Linked DNA regions of Homo sapiens: regions 1 and 3 are each linked to region 2. Evidence: promoter capture Hi-C in 16 types of primary human blood cells and fetal thymus (Javierre and others, 2016). All regions are on one chromosome and are shown on one strand. Each heading gives the region's core, a stretch centred on a gene start or on the middle of the fragment in contact. The rest is flanking DNA. Distances are from core to core; before and after follow the strand shown.

Evidence for each region. The method cuts DNA at HindIII sites, captures the fragments that hold promoters and counts their contacts. A CHiCAGO score of 5 or more calls a contact.
Region 1: a fragment that was not itself captured here is called in contact with the fragment with the promoter of RSAD1 in region 2 in 4 of 17 cell types (megakaryocytes, M1 macrophages, M0 macrophages and 1 more); the score reaches 8.6 in megakaryocytes.
Region 3: a fragment that was not itself captured here is called in contact with the fragment with the promoter of RSAD1 in region 2 in 4 of 17 cell types (M0 macrophages, M2 macrophages, M1 macrophages and 1 more); the score reaches 8.5 in M0 macrophages.

What each region holds. Positions count from the first base shown.
Region 1 is chr17:50,700,952-50,704,331 of GRCh38, reverse strand. All of the region lies in intron 1 of ANKRD40 (ankyrin repeat domain 40), which reads left to right. Among named protein-coding and RNA genes, the nearest start is that of ANKRD40, 5.3 kb to the left of the region's middle. The HindIII fragment of the contact is 327 bases long and covers 1,344-1,670 here.
Region 2 is chr17:50,477,277-50,480,525 of GRCh38, reverse strand. RSAD1 (radical S-adenosyl methionine domain containing 1) reads right to left here and starts at 1,666. Exons shown (of 9, transcript NM_018346.3): 1 at 1,507-1,666; 2 at 764-897; 3 at 442-646. The coding sequence starts at 1,641. RefSeq lists silencers at 453-839, 1,411-1,900. The HindIII fragment of the contact is 15,448 bases long and covers 1-3,249 here.
Region 3 is chr17:50,722,791-50,726,275 of GRCh38, reverse strand. The region is part of intron 1 of LUC7L3 (LUC7 like 3 pre-mRNA splicing factor); the gene reads right to left. Among named protein-coding and RNA genes, the nearest start is that of LUC7L3, 4.9 kb to the right of the region's middle. RefSeq lists an enhancer at 841-1,340. The HindIII fragment of the contact is 2,482 bases long and covers 367-2,848 here.

The DNA.
Region 1 (3,380 bases), core at 258-2,757, 220 kb before region 2:
TGTTAGCCAAGCTGGTCTCGAACTCCTGACCTCAGGTGATCTGCCCGCCTCGGCCTCCCAAAGTGCTGGGATTATAGGCGTGAGCCACCGCGCCCGGCCTCTTGTAGATTTAATTGGAGGAACTGTCTAATAGGCCCCTCAAACTCAACATGTCCAAGATTGAATTCCAAGTCTCCCCTCATCCCTCTACCACCTCAAGCCTGCTCCTCTGAGTCCTCAGCCTCTCAGGAGTGCTCAGGCCAGAACCCTTGGCACCCTGCTTGCCTCCTGCTTGCCTCCTGTCTTTCATAGCCGACATCCAGTCAGCCAATTCTATGAGCTCCACCTTCAGATACAGTCAGAATCTGACTACTTCTCACTAACCCTACCACTACACCTCTGATACAAAGCCACCATTGTTTCTCTTGCTTGGATTATTACAATAGCCTCCTACTAGTGTCCTTGCTCCTAAGCTTATATCATACAGTCTTCTTAATTAACACAGTGGTCAGAGGGATCCTGACTTAAAACATAAGTCAGATCATTTCACTCTGCTCAAAAATGGCTCCTATCTCACTCAGTAAAAGCCTACAGGGTCCTACAATTTCTACTTCCTGTCCCCACATCTTCCCTCCTTACCTCTGTGCTAATCTCATGGGATTTGCCCTTCTGCTTACCTTTTTCCCCTGGCCTCCTTGCTTTCTCTGGAATACCAGACAGTCCTGATTCAAGATCTTTGCGTTTTGTCTTCCCACTCTCTTAAATGCTTTCCCTCCAGATATCACATGGTTTGCTTCCTCACCACCTTCAGATTTTAGTTTAGATGTCACCTTCTTGGCAAGGCTTTTCCTGGGCCCTCAATTTAAAGTTGCACAATGCCCCTTTCCAACCTCTGTCATTCCCTAATGCCTTTCCCTGCTTTACTATTGCTGTCATACTTCATCACCACCTAGCGTACTGCGTGCTTTGCTTATTTATTTGCTGATGTCTGTTTCCTCTTCTGTAAAATGGGGGGAATGTTGACAGTAGTATTACCTCATGGGTTTAGAGGATTAAATAAGTTAATACATGTAATGCCTTTAGAACAATGTCCAACACGTAAAGCATTATACCTGTATTAGCCATTGTTGTTGTTTTCTTATTATGAAGCAATATGCTAGATAATGGAATATAAGGTTACCCTCAAAAAAACGTACTCTCTTGCATTTGCAAAGCAGAATGGTGACTGCTTTCAAGTCTTAGTTGCTCAGTAATCACAATTTCAGCACCAATGAGTGATGCCCTGTTGATGAATGACACCCAGTGCCTCAGGTCTGAAATAGTTTCTGACACTAATAAGATATTTTGACTGCAAATGTAAAGCTTAAGGAGTTGAAGTTCAAAGATAGAGTAATCTATCAATTAGATTGATCACTAATCATTCCCCCACATCAGTTGTAATTCAAGTGTCATGCATAACCCTTGGTTCATGAAGAACTTGAAAATATTACCTGGCTGCAGGGGCTCTGAGTTATGGCTGCCCAGAGCCGCACAGCTCTGGACGGTAAATGATGATCACTAAGGCACAGGGCTGTGGGGGCCACGCTATGTTGACTTAACCCTGCTTTACATGGGTGGTAGTTTAGCAAGTTGGTTTGTCCCAGAGTCTCTCAGACCCACTGGTAGTAAATTACCTCCTTTACTCTCAAGCTTGCCACGAACAAGTGATCTACTACTAGCAAGTGAGCATTTTATTTCCAAAAGGGAGCATATTTTTCTCATCATGCTTCATTCATTTTTGAGGGCTCACTTATCATTATAATTGTTCACTTTTTAAGCCTGTGCCACAGACATCCACACACAAACACACTCAAGGTTCCAGTTTGCCCAGAATCAAGGGTAGATTGGATCCTTCTACTTCAAGCAAGGTCCACTTTATCCTTAGTTTACTCATTTGGTACTTTTTTTTTTTTTGAGATGGAGTCTTGCTGTGTTGCCCAGGCTGAAGTGCAGTGGCACAATCTTGGCTCGCTGCAACCTCCACCTCCTGGGTTCAAGCAATTCTCCTGCCTCAGCCTCCCCAGTAGCTGGGATTACAGACATGCACCATCACACTAATTTTTGTATTTTTAGTAGAGATGGGGTTTCACCCTATTGGGCAGGCTGGTCTCAAACTCCCGACCTAAAGTGATCCACCTGCCTTGGCCTCCCTAAGTGCTGGGATTACAGGTGTGAGCCACCGTGCCTGGCCCATTCAGTAAATATTAATTAATACATGCCAAGCAAACACTTCCTTGCCTTCAGGGAGCTTGATCAAGACTCTTCTCTCCCAAACTTAACGAGACTCTTATTTTTCCCAAATTAGCAATAATTTTGTCATTGCATCATGGAATACACCTTAAAGGAACCTGGATAATCTAATTCTAATGAACCATAATGTAGAATGTCACTCTGAGACATCAATGGAATTGCTCCCAGCCAGCCAGACATGCTAACTTTCTGTAAGTTACTAATGTTAAGCCCAGGGCAAATCAGCTTTTTCCTGGAATCATATAAACTTTCCAAATAATTATACTTCCCAGGTTAGTGAACTAACCTTCAATATTGAACATTTGTTCTAATCTTCATTTCTGTATTTGGCTATAAGAGCTCTGAAGATATGTATCTCAGTTCAGTTAGAGAGTTGGTGAAAGAAGACCTTTCAAAACACAGGCGAAAAGTATTTTCCTTCCATAATATACAGTCAGCTCTGGCACCTAGGGATGGATTTAGTTGCTCTGAATCTTTCATTTCTGTTAAGATGGAGTTTTTGCTGGCATGCTAATTATGTTTCTGTACAGTATTAAAATAGTAGCCCTTCAGAGTGTGCAGAATTGCTTCCTCTGTGTACAATATTGAGTGATTAGTTTTACTTAAATGAGTCTGATATGTTAGAAGAACCTGTTCGTGAAGAATTTTGGTTGTTGATGTATATTTTTTAAGTACCTCAGGAATTAAAGTATGTGTGCAGTGCCTTACATTTACGCAGATGAGGATATGTTTGTAGCCTTCTGGAGAGAACTAGAGAAGCCAACTTTTTAAAAATGGAAATTTGGAAATCCTTTGTGTGTGTGTTAAGGAAAGAAAAGTAAGAAGGAAAAAGAAAGTGAGCAACTGGGATTCAGGCAAGAATATCTGCTGTCATAATAATAATTTAAGTGACAGAGCAAGCTGCTGATAGGAGATGGTTATTATCCTGATAATATTGAATCTTCAGGTGGCATATGAAGTGAGTTTCCATAGTCCCTGAAAAGGAATATAGCAATAGAAAAATATGTTTCAGAGACTGAGATGATCTAATGAGCGATACTGATAGAGTATATTCCACGGTATCATTGGAGTTAGCCAGCCAGTGAGCTTACCTTCTGGAGGCTATTGAAATT
Region 2 (3,249 bases), core at 417-2,916:
GAACTCTTCCTCTTCATTCAAACATCTCCTCCAGAGAAGTTTCAGTGATTTCATCAGAGTGACCTCCCTTCAGGCTGTACTCTAGAAGCCTTTTATAGAGACCCCCTTTACAGGTGACATTTACCATGCTGCAATAATCTGGCTACATGTCTGCGTCTCCCGTGTCATGTAGCAAATCTTTTTTGACCACCTACTATGTGCCAGGCACTATGGTAAGTGTTTGAAATAGAAAAGCCACACCTGATCCCTTTCTCATAAAGTCTGTGGTCTATGACAGCAGCAGACAATTAAGGAGTTATAAAAGTGTCGCACTAGGCCCTACTGTGTCCCTGGCACCCAGAAGGTGCTCAATCAATGTTTGCCCAATGAATGAATGTGACCAAAGAGGAGATGGCACTGAAGGGCGGGGTGCACTGGGATGGGGTGAGTGCCATGGGTTACCTGGAGGCCTATAGACAACCTGTTAACCCCTGCTGCCCCGAACTCTGCCAGTCTGGAGCCCGGAGCTGAAGTAGGATTAGCCTCCAATGTGACTTCCAAGTCTGCAGGCAGGTGGGCTGCCTGTGCCACAGCCTCCAGGACAGCAGCCACCGTGTGGGGACTGGCTAGACTGGGGGTCCCCCCACCAAAGAACACAGACTCCACCCTGGGGAAAGAGAATGGAGAAATGAGACCTGGGGGAGCCCTCTGGGATGCCTGCACCTATCCCCCACCACTCCTCCAAATATTTCCCAAAACGCTGCCTACAGCCCCCACTACCCACCGTTGCACCCCGCTGAGCCGCAGCAGCGTCTGAGCTTCGGTCACCAGACACTTCTGCATGGCAGCCTCCTCCAGGCGGCGAGGGATGTACTTGTTGAAGTTGCAGTAACTGCAGCGCTTCTCGCAGTAAGGCCACTGGGGGCAGTGAGTGCACGTGCGCGGTGAGAGCTGCCCTGGCCACTTCCAGGGTTCAGTCGCACACACCCCCAACCCCACCCCCACCCCTATCCCGAGGTCTTTCCACAGTAGCTAGGACATCTAAGCCACACAACTCCCCAAGGCAGGTCGCACTGGGGTTATTACATCCACTTCAATGTGAGAAAACTGAGGCTCACTCCTTTGTTACGCTGCCTCTTCCAACCAGCAGACGTCAGGAAGGAATTCAACCCAAGCTCTTTCTGGGATCATATAATTTTCATACAATTTTCCTATGAGCCATTTTCCCAGCTACCGAGTCAGAACACTGCTCTTAAGAAAATTTTGTCTTGCTAAGAGGAAAATTGTTATGAAATTTGAACCATTTGGTCAGAGTCACCGAGCCGGTGAGTAGCAGAGACTTCAGGTTTCTGGACCAAGTCATTTCCCTGCCAAAGCACAGGGTCCCATCCCAGACCTCGTACGGGGGCACGGAAACACGGCAGGCGGGTTCATAGAGTGACAAACCGCCACCTGGGTTTTGGACGGCCACGGTCACGGCCAGGGCTGCGGCCACACACCGTGGGCTCCGCCCCCGCCCCTACTCACGTGTACGTAAAGCGCCGCGCGCCGGCCCGCAGGCTCAGGACTCGGGGACCCTCCTGCGTTCTCCACGCGGCGGCGCCTCTGGGCCGCTCTGGCTGCTGCCGCCCAGCCGCGAGCCCGGGCTCCGGGGAGCGCCATGGCGCCCAGCGCAGCGCGGCGCACTGACCCGAGCAGGAGACGCGCGCAGGGATCACTGTGAGTGCGCAGCCGGCGGAAGGAAGAGGGGCTGCGTGACCGCGCGACAAGAGGGCCCGGGCCCGGGGCTGCGGCGCCACCTGCCGGGCGCCCGGGCGCTCACTGCGGCCTCCTGTCGGTTCTTTCCCCAGGCCGCGAGGCGGGCTGCTTGCCTTTTGGCACCTTGTGCCCGGGCGAGTTCCCGGACCCATCCAGGAGCTCTTAGTTTGTTCAGTCAATTCCTTGACATTTGATGTGCCTGGCTCAGAACTGGGCGCTGGGGACATCTAGGTGCATAAAGCCAGGTTGCATTCTGGCAGGAGAGAGGCAAGCCAACCGGCCAGGACAGGCAAGGCGTATTAATTCCGTGCCTGCTGGACACCAGAGCCGTCCGCCTCAGTGCTGTGAGGTCATCTGTTTTAAGAGTGTGGGAGTCAGTAGGGCAGAAGAGACACTTGGGCTGGATCTTTCTTTTAATTTCATTTACAAATATTTGGGAGAGGGGAGGTCTTGAACTCCTCGGCCTCAAGCGATCCTCCTGCCTCAGCATCTAGAGTAACTAAGGATTAAGGGCATGAGCCACCACCAGGGCTATGCACGGGATCTTGGAGGAGCAGAAAATCCCAGGGGCAATTGGCTTGGCCGGGAGAGTAGACTGTTTTGGGTCAGGCCAACCCAAGCATCTGGAGGTGTACGTGCTGGAAGGACAGTCAGATGGTGTGTGTAGGAGAGAGGGGGAAGGCGCAGGGGAAGGCCTGGGGAAGCAGGCACCTGAACAACTGTCCCACAAAGCAGAAACATCATGGGCTTCAGAGGCAGGCGGTGCAGGACAGTTCTCCCAGTGGCCTTGAACTGACCTGGTTCTCCCCTCCTTTCTTGCTTGTAGTTCTCAAGAATAACTGTAGACGCCTGTAATCCCAGCACTTTGGGAGGCCGAGGCGGGCAGATCACTTGAGATCAGAAGTTCAAGACCAGCCTAGCCAACATGCTGAAACCCCGTCTTTACCAAAAATACAAAAATTATCCAAGCGTGGTGGTGGGCACCTGTAATCCCAGCTACACGGGAGGCTGAGCAGGGAGAATCCCTCGAACCTGGGAGGCGGAGGTTGCAGTGAGCTGAGACAGTGCCACTGCACTCCAGCCTGGGTGATGGAGCAAGACTGTCTCAATAAATAAATAAATAAAACTGTAGAGTGTGCAGAGAATGCAACATCCTGAGGGAAGGAAGGACTGGCCAGCACAGCCATGCTCTGTTCCAGTCCCCCTAGAAAAAGCATGTCCTTCAACACTTCAGCCCAACATGTCACATGGCCCCAGGGTATAAAGCCCAGGGCAGAAGCCGGGCGCGGTGGCTTACTCCTGTAATCCCAGCACTTTGGGAGGCCGATGCGGGCGGATCATAAGGTCAGGAGATTGAGACCATCCTGGCTAACACGGTGAAACCCCGTTTTTACTAAAAATACAAAAAACTAGCCAGGTGTGGTGGTGCGTGCCAGTAGTCCCAGCTACCCGGGAGGCTGAGGCAGGAGAATTGCTTGAACCTGGGAGGCGGAAGTTGCAGTGAGCCCAGAT
Region 3 (3,485 bases), core at 358-2,857, 250 kb before region 2:
TGCTTGAACCTGGGAAGCAGAGGTTGCAGTGAGCCGAGATGGCACCACTGCACTCCAGCCTGGGCGACAGAGCAAGACTGTCTCAAAAACAACAACAACAAAAAGCAAAACAACAAGTTTATACGGTATTGCAATAAACAATGATGAAAATACACAAGAACCAAGGGATAATTTTTTACTGTGATATGCAATTTACTTTAGACACCAACTGCTCATGCAGAGATTATCAAGAGTCACAGGTCATAGGGCATTTTAAGTGGAGCCTGGCAACACTTGAGCTCACTGTAATAGCAACAGGTGGCTACAAAATTATTACAGTATTACAGTATGTACTATAGTTAATTTTATGCAGTTATTACTCAAGCTTTACTTTCTCTGGACTGCTAGTGGCACCATGTACTGTGTGCATAAGTTTTTATAAAGTTTAACTTTTTATGATTCGTATGTATTTTGTGGTAGGAAAATGATAAACTAGTATATACATCTATTTTATGTATTTGTGATGTACTTATCTTTTCTTAAATTTTAAAAATATTTCTAAGCTATGTGATTCGTCTTCAAGTTTTTTCAAATTGTTGCAAATCTCCAAAAAATGTTCCAATATATTTATTGAAAAAACTCCACGTATAAATGGACACACTCAACTCAAACCCGTGTTGTTCAAGGGTCAATTTTACTTTTCCCAATGGTAGGATTTATCATATTCTGTTATGGAAATGCGTTTACATTCAATTGGAATAATCCCCATTGGAAAAAAAAAGTGCATTTACTGTCACCAATACATGATGGCTCTTTAGGACCAAGTGCTGTATCTGTACTATCCTGCTGTTATCTACCTAAGAGCAATACTTTTAATTTTTTTTTTGAAATGGAGTCTTGCTCCTGTCACGCAGGCTGGAATGCAGTGGCGTGATCTCGGCTCACTGCAACCTCCACCTCCCGGGTTCAAGCGATTCTCCTTCCTCAGCCTCCCGAGTAGCTGGGATTACAGGCGTGCGCCACCACACCTGGCTAATTTTTGTATTTTTAGTAGAGACAGGGTTTCGCCATGTTGGCCAGGCTGGTCTCAAACTCCTGAGCTCAGGTGATCCACCCGCCTCAGCCTCGCAAAGTGCTAGGATTACAGGCGTGAGCCACCGCTCCCAGCCGAGCAATACATTTTTGTTGGATAAATGAATACAACAATTTTCCTAACTTACTATAAGAAATGAAGAGAAAGGCTGGGCATGGTGGCTCACCCCTGTAATCCCAGCACTTTGGGAGGCCGAGGGAGGATCACTTGTTGTCAAAAGTTCAAGACCAGCCCGGCAAACATGGTGAAACCCCATCTCTACAACAACACAAAAATTAGTCAGGCATGGTGGCATGCACCTGTAATTCCACCTACTCTGGAGGCTGAGGCAGGAGAATCGCTTGAACCCGGGAGGTGGAGGTTGCAGTGAGCTGAGATCACACCACTGCACTCCAACCTGGGCAACAGAGCAAGACTCCATCTCGGGGGTAAAAAAAAAAAAAAAAAGAGAAAATATTTCATAAAACGAAGAACTGTATTAGCAAAAAAGTCAAATTTACAAACTTAAGCTACCTTCTCCTTTTGTGAGGAAATCAAGGCTAATAACATATATAATGACACACACACACACACACACACACACACACACACAATTTTCCTAAAGCAACCAAAGATTTACGAAATACCTTACTATAATTTTCAGTGATTATGGTATTGTGGTTATTTTATTCTATTTTTTTTTTGAGACAGAGTGTCACTCTGTTGCCCAGGCTGGACTGTGGTGGCACCATCTCGGCTCACTGCAACCTCTGCCTCCTGGGTTGAAAGGATCCTCCTGCCTCAACCTCCAGAGTAGCTGGGATTACAGGAATGCACCACTACGCCCAGCTAATTTTTTTATTTTTTATTAGAGACAGGGTTTCACCATGTTGGCCAGGCTGGTCTCGAACTCCTGGCCTCAAGTGATCTGCCTGCCTTGGCCTCCCAATGTTGAGATTACAGGTGACCCACCATGCCCGGTCGGCTATGTTTTTTTTTTAAAGTCCTTGTATTTTACAGATATACAATGACCGCTTTAAGGTTGACAATAACAGAATTGCTTCAAAATAATGGAAGGGATACAGAGGAAATAATATTGACTATGTGCTAATATTGCTAAATTGGGCATGGGTACATGGGGAGTTCAATTTATTATACTATTCACTCTAATTCTGTATGTTTTGGGAAGAAAAGCAAATAGCAATTACATACACATATAACACATGGACTGCTGGCAATTCTGAGAAGCCAACACTTACTATTTTACTATGGAGTAAGGTAGGAAATGCCAGCCGGGCGCAGTGGCTCACGCCTGTAACCTCAGCACTTTGGGAGACTGAGGCGGACCGATCACTTGAGGTCAGGAGTTCAAGACCAGCCTGGCCAATATGGCAAAACCCTGTCGACTAAAAATACAAAAATTAGCCGGGCGTGGTGGCCCACACCTGCAATCCCAATTACTCGGGACGCTGAGGCCAGGAGGTGGAGGTTGCAGTGAGCCAAGATCATGCCACTACACTCCAGCCTGGGTGACAGAGCTAGACTCTGTCTCAAAAAAAAAAAGGGGGGGGGGCAGGGAGCAGGGTAGAAAATGCTTTTCTATCTTACTCCATAGTAACATAGTAAGTTACTATGAACATTTTGGTGACTCTGAATGAAAACTAGTAAAATACATATTAATAGATGCCATCATGCATTATAATTACTAGTTTTTTGCTTTCAATTTTTGCTCCCAAATTCTGAACATTTTTAAAGCAAAAAGAAAAAGTATACAAGTAAAAAATGTGGACAGAAGCTTTAGCTATTTTTCCTTTTCTAAACAACTTTTCAGTGTCAATGACAGTATCTGCTAACATTCCAAAGATTTTAGAAAAGAACATAGTTCAATTTCCTTCATAAATTATTAAACCTTCATGTTAAACCTTCATGGAAGGAAGGGTAGGCTTGAGTTTGATAAATGGAAGAAAACTCATTTCAGATATTAGAATCAGTGTTAATGATTAAGTAATTTCATTTTCAGGTTGAGATCTAGAATATAAAAACCTCAATTTGAACTACAAAATTTCTGTCTTGCTACATAAAAAATAACAAAACTCCCGATCAGACTTTACAATTTACTACAATCTTCTAATAATATGGCTACTAGTGCCTTCTCTGGCTAACACTGAAATCAAACCCTCACTGAAAGGTACTCACCCTAGGCAGTTAGTTACAATCACATGCTTTCCTCATCACTGTGGTTGTTTAGGATTAACCAAGCAATTGCTTAGTGCAAAAAACCAAAACAATAATCTCAAACAATTGCAAAATACAAATAAACACGGTGGGAGGGTGTACCAATGAATCCATGAAACAGTATTAAAGCCGACTTCACTTTAGCTGCAGTTTCTCAGATCCAGAGGTAGCAATCTACAAAGTTGGAAATGCCTGTAAA